2 separate regions of the Homo sapiens genome follow, and region 2 is linked to region 1. Evidence: promoter capture Hi-C in human tissues and cell types (Jung and others, 2019). All regions are on one chromosome and are shown on one strand. Each heading gives the region's core, a stretch centred on a gene start or on the middle of the fragment in contact. The rest is flanking DNA. Distances are from core to core; before and after follow the strand shown.

Evidence for each region. Contacts are between HindIII fragments. The study calls those that stand out against the background at their distance.
Region 2: a fragment that was not itself captured here is called in contact with the fragment with the promoter of PPP4R1 in region 1 in 1 of the 25 tissues and cell types used here (lymphoblastoid cells).

Annotation. Positions count from the first base shown.
Region 1 is chr18:9,611,214-9,615,808 of GRCh38, forward strand. It overlaps PPP4R1 (protein phosphatase 4 regulatory subunit 1), which reads right to left and starts at 3,346. Exons shown (of 20, transcript NM_001042388.3): 1 at 3,265-3,346; 2 at 3,013-3,057. The coding sequence starts at 3,271. PPP4R1-AS1 (PPP4R1 antisense RNA 1) reads left to right here and starts at 3,594. Exons shown (of 3, transcript NR_110773.1): 1 at 3,594-3,801. RefSeq lists an enhancer at 2,463-2,542 and silencers at 2,813-3,062, 3,163-3,432, 3,533-4,042. The HindIII fragment of the contact is 9,629 bases long and covers 1-4,595 here.
Region 2 is chr18:8,582,450-8,586,673 of GRCh38, forward strand. No RefSeq gene overlaps it. Among named protein-coding and RNA genes, the nearest start is that of RAB12, 25 kb to the right of the region's middle. The HindIII fragment of the contact is 7,472 bases long and covers 1-4,224 here.

The sequences.
Region 1 (4,595 bases), core at 2,096-4,595:
AGGGCCAACTTACACCTAGCTTGGCTGAAGTAGTAGGACTTGTTTACAACTACTCTGGAGGTTGGGCTCCATACTCTGGAGTTTTACCATAGACAGAGAAACTCAGGCTCACGAGATAACAACCGTGTTATAAGGGCAGCCCAAGCTCCGTTCCTCTACCTTTGGGTCCTCTACCTTCTCCAGCTTCTCCAGGATGTGACAGCTGTCTCAGTCCTTTACCAACCATCTTGCTCTCTAAGGAGGCACCATGGCCCAGTGTTCCCCCTCATTCTTTCTCCCTTCACAAGAGATGGGAAGTGGTCCTTCAACTGGCCATATGTCCAAAAGTCCTTTGTTCCTGAATATTCTGGGTAAAGGTATCACCTGTAAAAACTTTAGTAACTGAGAAAAATAAGCAATTACTCTAACAAAGCCTTCAACCAAATTATGAATATGCAAATAACTATTGTGCCTTCAATGTCTGTTTTATCCTAAATTAAAATGCACAGGAAACAGAATCTTTAAAAAGTTAGTTGCAGCCGGGCGCAGTGGCTCACGCCTGTAATCCCAGCACTTTGGGAGGCCAAGGCAGGTGGATCACCTGAGGTCGGGAGTTCGAGACCAGCCTGATCAACATGGAGAAACCCCGTCTCTACTAAAAGTACAAAATTAGCCAGGCGTGGTGGCACACGCCTGTAATCCCAGTTACTTGGGAGGCTGAGGCAGGAGAATCACTTGAACCCGGGAGGCAGAGGTTGCGGTGAGCCGAGATCGCGCCATTTTGCACTCCAGCCTGGGCAACAAGAGTGAAACTCCATCTCAAAAAAAAAAAAAATTTAGTTGCGAGCATTGGCAGCATCTTTAAGTACCTTCATTCTGTAAGGTTCAACATCAGTGTTTCCTTCTCTGCTCTTCTTTTAAGCTTCCCTTGCTCTTTTCTCATAACAGCAAACATAATCATAATCATCGCTGTTTACCAGGAATTGTTCCAAGTGCTTCAGAGGCACTAACTCATGTACAGCCTTGAACAACTCTATGAAGTAGGTAATATTTCTTATGCCTACTTACAAATGACAAAACTGAGGCATAGGGAGGTTAAGTGAGTTGCCCAAGTCTGCCCAAAAAGACACTGCTAAGACAAACAGAGCAGCCTGGCTCCAGTGGTAACTGTAATACTGTACTGTACACCTAGATTCAAAACTGCTTGTAAACCACTAGAGGGCATGGGTTGTGCCCATCTTTCTCAAAGCTCCATCCCCAGTACCTGGCAGAGTGTTGAAACTCATGGTTGAATTTTTCACAGGTATGCCTTCCCCTCTACACTGTGCTTCTTGGGGGCTAAGGAAGAAACTGAGACTGCATTTCATCCTTCAGGAGTGAGAAGTTTTTGCTCCAGTCATAAATACTTGCTGAATAAATGAATCTTCTATTTACGAAGTCGAACATAAATATAAAAAGCCCTCCTCGAGGTAACATAATCAGGGCCATTTCTCCAATCCTAACCTGGCAAGAGATCTGAAATCAACAGATGCCTTAAATAATATCTCAAACTTACTATTAGGCAGATAAGTGGCTTAAGGTAAACATTAAATAAAATGTTAAAGCTGCCCTTCACTACATGAGTACTGCTCCCTTTAAGAGAGCTGTTTTGAGCCACCTCACTAAAAACACAGACTTAGCAAAAGTTTGGATGTGGTTCATTTACTTTAAAGATAAATTACTCGTTTCAGATAATCCATCTAAATAGTAAATCCCCCTTACTTTACTCAAAACAACCAGGAATCTAAAAATTAAGTTTACTCTGAGTAAGGGAACCACATTAGACAATGCTAAGGATTAACTACAGAGTATTTAAAAGAGTAATTTCAAACTGCAGCCATCTCTGAAATTACTTATACAGGTACTAGACAGTCAATCTCAGCATCCGGTAGGCTTTCCACTAAACAGACCACAATCCTACTATGGTTATCATCTCAACTCAGAACAATTTCTTGGTCCCTTATGTATCCCATGATCTTCGCTTATATATTTTGCACACTCTGCATTTTTAAAATGCATCTCAAAACCTATTGATTTTTTGATGGGTCGCTATTTTGGAAGATTAGCAAGAATAGAAACTATTTTAAGTTAACTGCAATTTGTCACTTCTTTCAATACAAACCTGCTTAACTCTTTTGTCTTTTCTATCGTGACCCAAATTATTTTCTGAGGCTTAGAAAAGTACATATAAGACGAAAAATTCCTTTCTAAATATCAATTCCGTCGCCATCAGGAAATGTCAGAAACTTTGTCTTTTTAAAAATAAAAGCGTCAACTCTTTAAAAACTTCAGTACCTCAAAGGAAAGCTGCACTGTTAACACTGAAGGAGGGCTGGGTGATTTCTGAACATCCGCATTAAAGAAATATGCTCTCCAAACCTAGTAATTCCTGCGGAGGCCACACCTTCTAACCTTCTCGTAATCCACTAATCAAATCGGGAGCATCTGAAAACTGCTACCAGCCAAAGTAAAATGACAGGTATGTCATCCTCAAACAATCCAAAACCGGGTCGGGGAGCCCAGACGGCTAGCCGGGGCCCAGGCTGACCCCCGGGCGCTCCTGGAAGAGCGACTCTAAGGAAACACACCTCCCGCGCGAGCCTCTTCCTTCCTAGAGTGACGGGGGAAGGGGACACCAGGGGCAGAAACACACCCAAACCCCACTTCAAATCCTGCCCCACCGCTTCTCCTTCCAAAACAGCCGCGCCACTGCTGAGCCCGCAGGCGATTCGGGGGCGCCGGGAGAAGAGAGCGAAGGGCGGAAAGCGAACTTGGGCGTTACTCCGGGCGTCTCCCTCCCCCAGCGGAACCTGGGCGCGCCGTTTCCTCACGGACGCGAGATTTTCCCCCCCGATCGCCACCCCAGCCCGCCTGGGGCCGCCCTCGCCCACCGTCCCCTCAGCCAGCCAGGGCCCGGCCCAGGCCTCGCCGCCGCCCGCCCTCCCCGGCCGCTCCCCGCGGACTGCCAGGCCACCGCGAGGCCGGGCCACTCACATCCGTCTGCGTCCTCCTGCAGGTCCTCCTGAAGCAGCGAGAGGTCTGCGCCGAGGGGAGAGAAGAAAGGCCCGGTCAGCGCCCCGGGGCCCGGCGCGACGCCCCCCCCCCGCCCGCCTCCCCCCCGCCCCGGGGGCGCCTTCCCGCGCCGGGACCCCACGCCGGCCCCGGCCCGGCAGCCACTCAGGGCTGCGGCGGAGGGCGGGTGGGCTCGAGGAGCCGCCGCCGCCCGGAGAACAGGGGGCCACGTACCCGCCATCTTGTGGTCGCCCCCTCCTCCGCGGCCGCCCGGGGAGCCGGGGCTACATGGAGCGGCGCGAGCCGGGGAGCCGGTGGACGCGCGCGGGAGGGGCGGCGGGGAGGAGGAGGGCCGGGCTGGCGGGGGCGCGCGCGCGGGGCGGGCCGAGGGCCCGGGCCTGCCGCGGGCGGCGCGGCTCCCGGCCGCCCGGGCCCCCGGCCGCGCCCCGCCCCGCCCCGCCTGCCCCTCCGCGCGGCTCCCGGGCGACCGGCGCTCCCGCCTCCCGCCTTTCCCGCTGCTTGCCGGGTCCCGGCCCGGCGACGCGCGCTCACACCCTCCTCCCGAGCCGCCCTCACGCCGAGCGCTGCGGACGGGGGCGCGCAACCTGCCGCCGGCCGGGACCCTGCGGCGAGTGCCGGAACCCGGCCGGGCGGGGCCTCCCGCGGCCCGGCCGCTTTATTGGGTCACCGGCCTCGCCCACCGCCCTGCCAGCCGCAGCCATCTCGGCGGGCGCGCCGCTCGCAGCCAGCGCCCCATCCCCAGGCCTGCACGTACGTCGTCGGCGATCCGGGGCCGGGGGCGGCTCCGAGGTCGTCGGGGCCGGGGTCCCACCTCCTCTTGGAGGAAGCGCCGCCTCCCCACCCGCCCGGGGCCCTCGCCAAGTGGCTGCTAACAAAGCCCAGGGCCCGGCTGCGGGATGGTTGACTGACAAAGTCATGCCTGCCTAGCCAGCTTCCTCGTGCAGCACGGTGAAGGCTGGGGCGCCGGGTTTTTACTCCCACGTCCTGCCAACTCGAGCTGACAAGGCGGGCAATCCACCAGCGGGAGCGTTGGCAGGCCCGGGGTCAGATCCTGATTCAGCCAGTTAATTGGTAGGAGTGGGGCCCATTTGTAGAATGAAGGTGATAACTGCCTCGTGGGGTTATTGGCATTAAATGAAGAATGTAGGGAACCTAGCATGGTTCTTGATGTCTAGGAGGTGCTCGGTGAAGGGTGCCTATGATTCGCTTTGTCTTCTAAATACTTTTGGCAGCACTTGAGGTGTTAAAGTCTGTATCCCAGACTTTATTAGTCTTGTTGTTTTACGTGACTTAAGCGATTAGCTCAAACGCCCAAGTACAAAATGGGGCTAAACCCAGGTTTTCCGACACGATTCTACCTCCATGGCTCTATCTCCAGCTCCACCCAAGGCCTCCAAAATGGTGTTCTCCTAAAGTGACCAACAAAACACCAAGCTGTGTCATGGTGCCACTTTGGCGATGTGGTCTCTTAGGAGAGGGAATTCTAAGTAGTTAATTAGCTTGTTCCTTTCTACGTTGTAGTCTTGACCAAGGACAATGTGTTG
Region 2 (4,224 bases), core at 501-3,000, 1.0 Mb before region 1:
AGGACTTGCCATACAGCCTCCTCACCACCACAGATACCTCCAGCAGCATCACTTCTGCTTGGTCATATCACCTGAATGGAAGGGTAGCCTGGACCCACTGCAGAGCCCTCTCTTGATCTGAACCCCACTTAAAACTGGTGGCCCTAGGCTGGGCACAGTGGCTCATGCCTATAACCCCAACACTTTGCGAGGCCGAGGTGGGAGAATCACTTGAACCCAGGAGTTCAAGATCAGACTGCACAACATAGTGGGATCCCATCTCTACAAAAAGTTTTAAAAATTAACCAGGTGTGCTGGCATGCACCTGTGGTCCCAGCTACTTGGGAGGCTGAGGTGAGAGGATTGTTTGTGCCTGGGAGGTCCAGGCTGCAGTAAGCCGTGATGGAGACACTGTACTCCAGCCTGGGTGACAGAGCCAGACCCTGTCTCAAAACAAAAACAGAAACAGCTGGTGGCCTTCCAAGCCACTCTACAAATGGATGAGAGTGGCATTTCCAAGTGTCTCCACAACCCAAAGAGCCTCATGAAGTGCCTCATCTTTTTTTTTAACTAGTAGGGGATGTGAGGTGCAACCATTTCCCCTTTCCCAAGGTGGCTTTGTCTTCTTTGCCCAGACCACTTGATCCCTAAAATCTTTACCAAAGTAACAGATTCTTGTATCTTCATGGTGTTTATCTCTCACCCTCAGCCACTCTCATATTTTACTAGGGCCTCTAGAGTTCTTGCCAATTTATACTCAGCAAGTCCACTAAGCATGATATCATCAATAAAGTAAACTGGCATGGCGGTTGTGGAATGTCTAGGTAATCAATGTTTCAATAGATTTTATGATGACAAAGAATAGGAGAGTTGACAAAGTCCTGGAGTACTTTCCTGTAAAAGCAAGCTGCTTTTGATACTTTTATTGATGACAATTGAAAAAAATGCATTTGCCAGATCAATAGTTGCATGCCACATGCCAAAACAGGAGCCCACGTGCTCCCATAAAGACATCACATCCAGCACAGCTGGTGCCACTGGCTACCAATTGTTTATGTTTGTATAATCCACTGGCCTCTGGCATGGTCCATCGGGGGTGTGCAGGGACCACCCAGAGAATTTACGAGGATATGATGGGGTTCACACCCCCTACATCCTTCATCTTTGATGGTGCTGATCACTGCAGTGTCTCCCAGGATGTGGTATTACTTCTGATTTACTTCCCTGACAAAGCAATGAAAAAAGGAAGCTCTTGTCACCCACTGGCCAAGGGTGCCCCACAGGAGTTAACTCCTTTGTGTGTAGGTTACACATGCACAGGTGCTAAGCAGGTGCCATGGATGGCATCCAGGAAGCCCTGGGGAGGGGAGTGAGAGGTGCTTGGCATGGGCCTGTGGGGACTCAAGGCATCACCAGGCTGCACCTTCACAAAGCCATCAGAGCCCGCACTATCTGGTGGCTGCAACTGTAGTTGGACAATGTGTGAGTGAGGCTGAGAGGATCTGAATAAGCGCCGGAGGCATCTTGTACACTGAATCCTTAGCAGGCCAGTAGGCAGAGACAGAAGGAGACACATAGGATCTTCTGTGGGATTGACAGGTCTCCAAAGGCTGGAACCCTTTAAGCAGCTGGCTCAGGACTCAAAGCAGTAGAAGCACTCAACAAACATTTTTTGGATGCAAAAACTAAGAAATTAATTAAATAATAAGTCAACAATTATTGAAAGATCCAGGTCACATTAAAAGATGTGGCAAACATGGATTTCACCGTACCTTCCAAGCCTGAAATGAAAAGTGTCCCTGGGAAGCCAGGTGAGCCTGAGTATACCTGGGCACAGACTGGGGGCCATGATAGACAGCGAGAATGTCCCCCAACACAGACCAGGAAGCAGCACAGCACTGTGGCTGAGGGGTTCTGGGTCTAAGAGGGTTCGACAGGCCCCATGTTACTCAGAGGGAAACCCATTTGCTCTGATCAAATATCTTACAGAGGTAGACAGAGCTAAGAGATGAGGTCATCAGGAGACAGGGTCTAAGGTTAGCCCACTTCCTCATAAAGGCTGGGTGACTCCCTGGCTCTCTGCGCCTCATGCCCAGGTACAAGGAAGAACTTGGTATGGGCGGCGGAGGACTTTGGCTTCTGACTGCCAATTCTTTCTCCCCGGTGGGGAAAACAGAGAGCTTCAGTCGCCAGGCAAGTGCTAAGATGTCTCCTGCGCTAGTAAAGTTGGAGAGGAAGGTTTAAGTAGAGAACAAAATAGAGAGGGAGGGAGGGAGAAGAGGAGAGAGGGGAAGAGGGGAAGGGGAGAGGGAGGGAGGACAGAAGGAGGAGCAGCAGCAGGAGGAGCAGGAAGTGGAGACAATTTTTAAAGTTGTCTTTTATTTTGGGGATGGAAAGCAGTAGTTCCATCATTAACAAGCCTTTATTCCAAATAAAAGGACTAGCCCCAGTGTGGAGCAGTCCCGTCCCGCTCTGCAGATGAAATTAAGGCAGCAAGTCAAAAAGCAAGCATGCATTGTCTGGGTAATGCAGTGGCTTAGGCACCGACATTCTCTGCAAATCCCTACTTGGAGAGCCCGACCTGGTCTCGGGGCTGCCTGCGGAAAGCACTGGAGAGCAGTCATTTCACACCATTCACACCGGCCAGCATAGGTTAAATCTTCCCAAGTTTGAATGCCTCTTTCCAGGGAAGAACAAGAAAAATCCAAAACGTTTTAAATAGTATGACCATCAATGAGGAAGAACATTTGAGATAAATAATAAAACTGTCATCTTGATCGAGGTACAAATCTTCTTCCAAAGTTTTAAAATCCTTTGTGTGCTTCCTCACTTGCTTATGGATTTGGGGTGGACACAAAGGCATGCCTTATTTGTCTTATTTGTAGCTCCATTTTTTCTTAACAGTTCTTCCATGTCTCCTCATTTTGAACAATCAAGTGGTGAAATAAGCAATTTGAATGCCCTCCTTTTTAAACGCTAAAGTGCTATATAAATGAAAAGTATTATCATTTCCAGTTTTAACTCGAAAGCAGAGTGATGTAAGGCCTCCAATGCCTAATTTCTTTAAATGGATGGACTGAGAAAAAAATACAGTTGCATTGTTTAATTTTCCAAAGAAAAAACAGTTTTCAAAGATGAAGTAATATTATTTTATTTAAAATTAATGTATTAATAAATACAAAAATATGTATTGTGTAGTAATAATTATTGCTGGGTGGGGCTGTGGGTGGCTTTCTGGGAGGCATTATATAGTACATAATAGAATATAAAAATGGAAGTTTTGAGCCGTGTACAGTGGCTCGTGCCTGTAACCCCAGCACTTTGGGGGCCCATGGCAGGAGGATCATTTGAGCCTAGGAGCTCGAGATGAGCCTGGGCAACATAGTGAGATACCATCTCTACAAAAAATTAAACACCTAGCCGGGTATGGTGGTGCATGCTTGTGGTCCCAGCTACTCAGGAGGCTGAAGCAGGAGGATCACTTGAGTCTGGGAGTTTGAGGCTGCAGTCACAATTGCGGCAATGCACTCCAGCCTGAGCAACAGAATGAGACCCTGCTTCTACAAAAATAAAAATAAAAATAAACTTTTTTAAAATGGAAGGTTTGGCTGAGACCCTAAGATGAGAAAGATCGTGTGCCAACCTGAGGTTCCAAGTAAGGAGTCTAGCTTTTAGGGTCTTTGGTGAGAAGCTTTAACCCTCACCTATATCAAAGGCCAGAATGTGTGGAGATGGGAGGGATTTGTGCAGAGACTTTTTAGGGAAAGCTGTTGATCCGTTCTAAGTCCCAGCTCCCAAGGAGGAAAAATGGGGAGGTTTGTCCTCAAGCTGCTAAGAGGGGCACTGAAGGTGCCACATGGAGAGCTGCTGTGTGTCCCATGTGGTAGGGGGCCCAGGAGGCTGGTGTGTGACTCCCACTTGAGAAATCTAAAGGGTGAGCCATGTGGCAGCTCTGCCGATAGCTGAGGGGAGGACGCCTGCACCCCCAGGATGCTGGGGCAGAGGTGATGGGGTCATGCCTGTGAGAAAGCCATTGTGGGTTACTTTAGGTTTTGTCCAAGAGGGCCAGCTGGAGGGGCACAGAGCTGCAGGTGTTGCTGGATTCCCATGGCCATGGGGAAACCACCGTGAGCCACAGGAGAAGCATCCCCCCGAGTTAGGGAACTTCCAGCGGGAAGTGCCCACCTTCGTGGGTGGCTGGAGGAGGGGCTCTGAGGAACCCACACAAACCTCCACGGGAGAAGG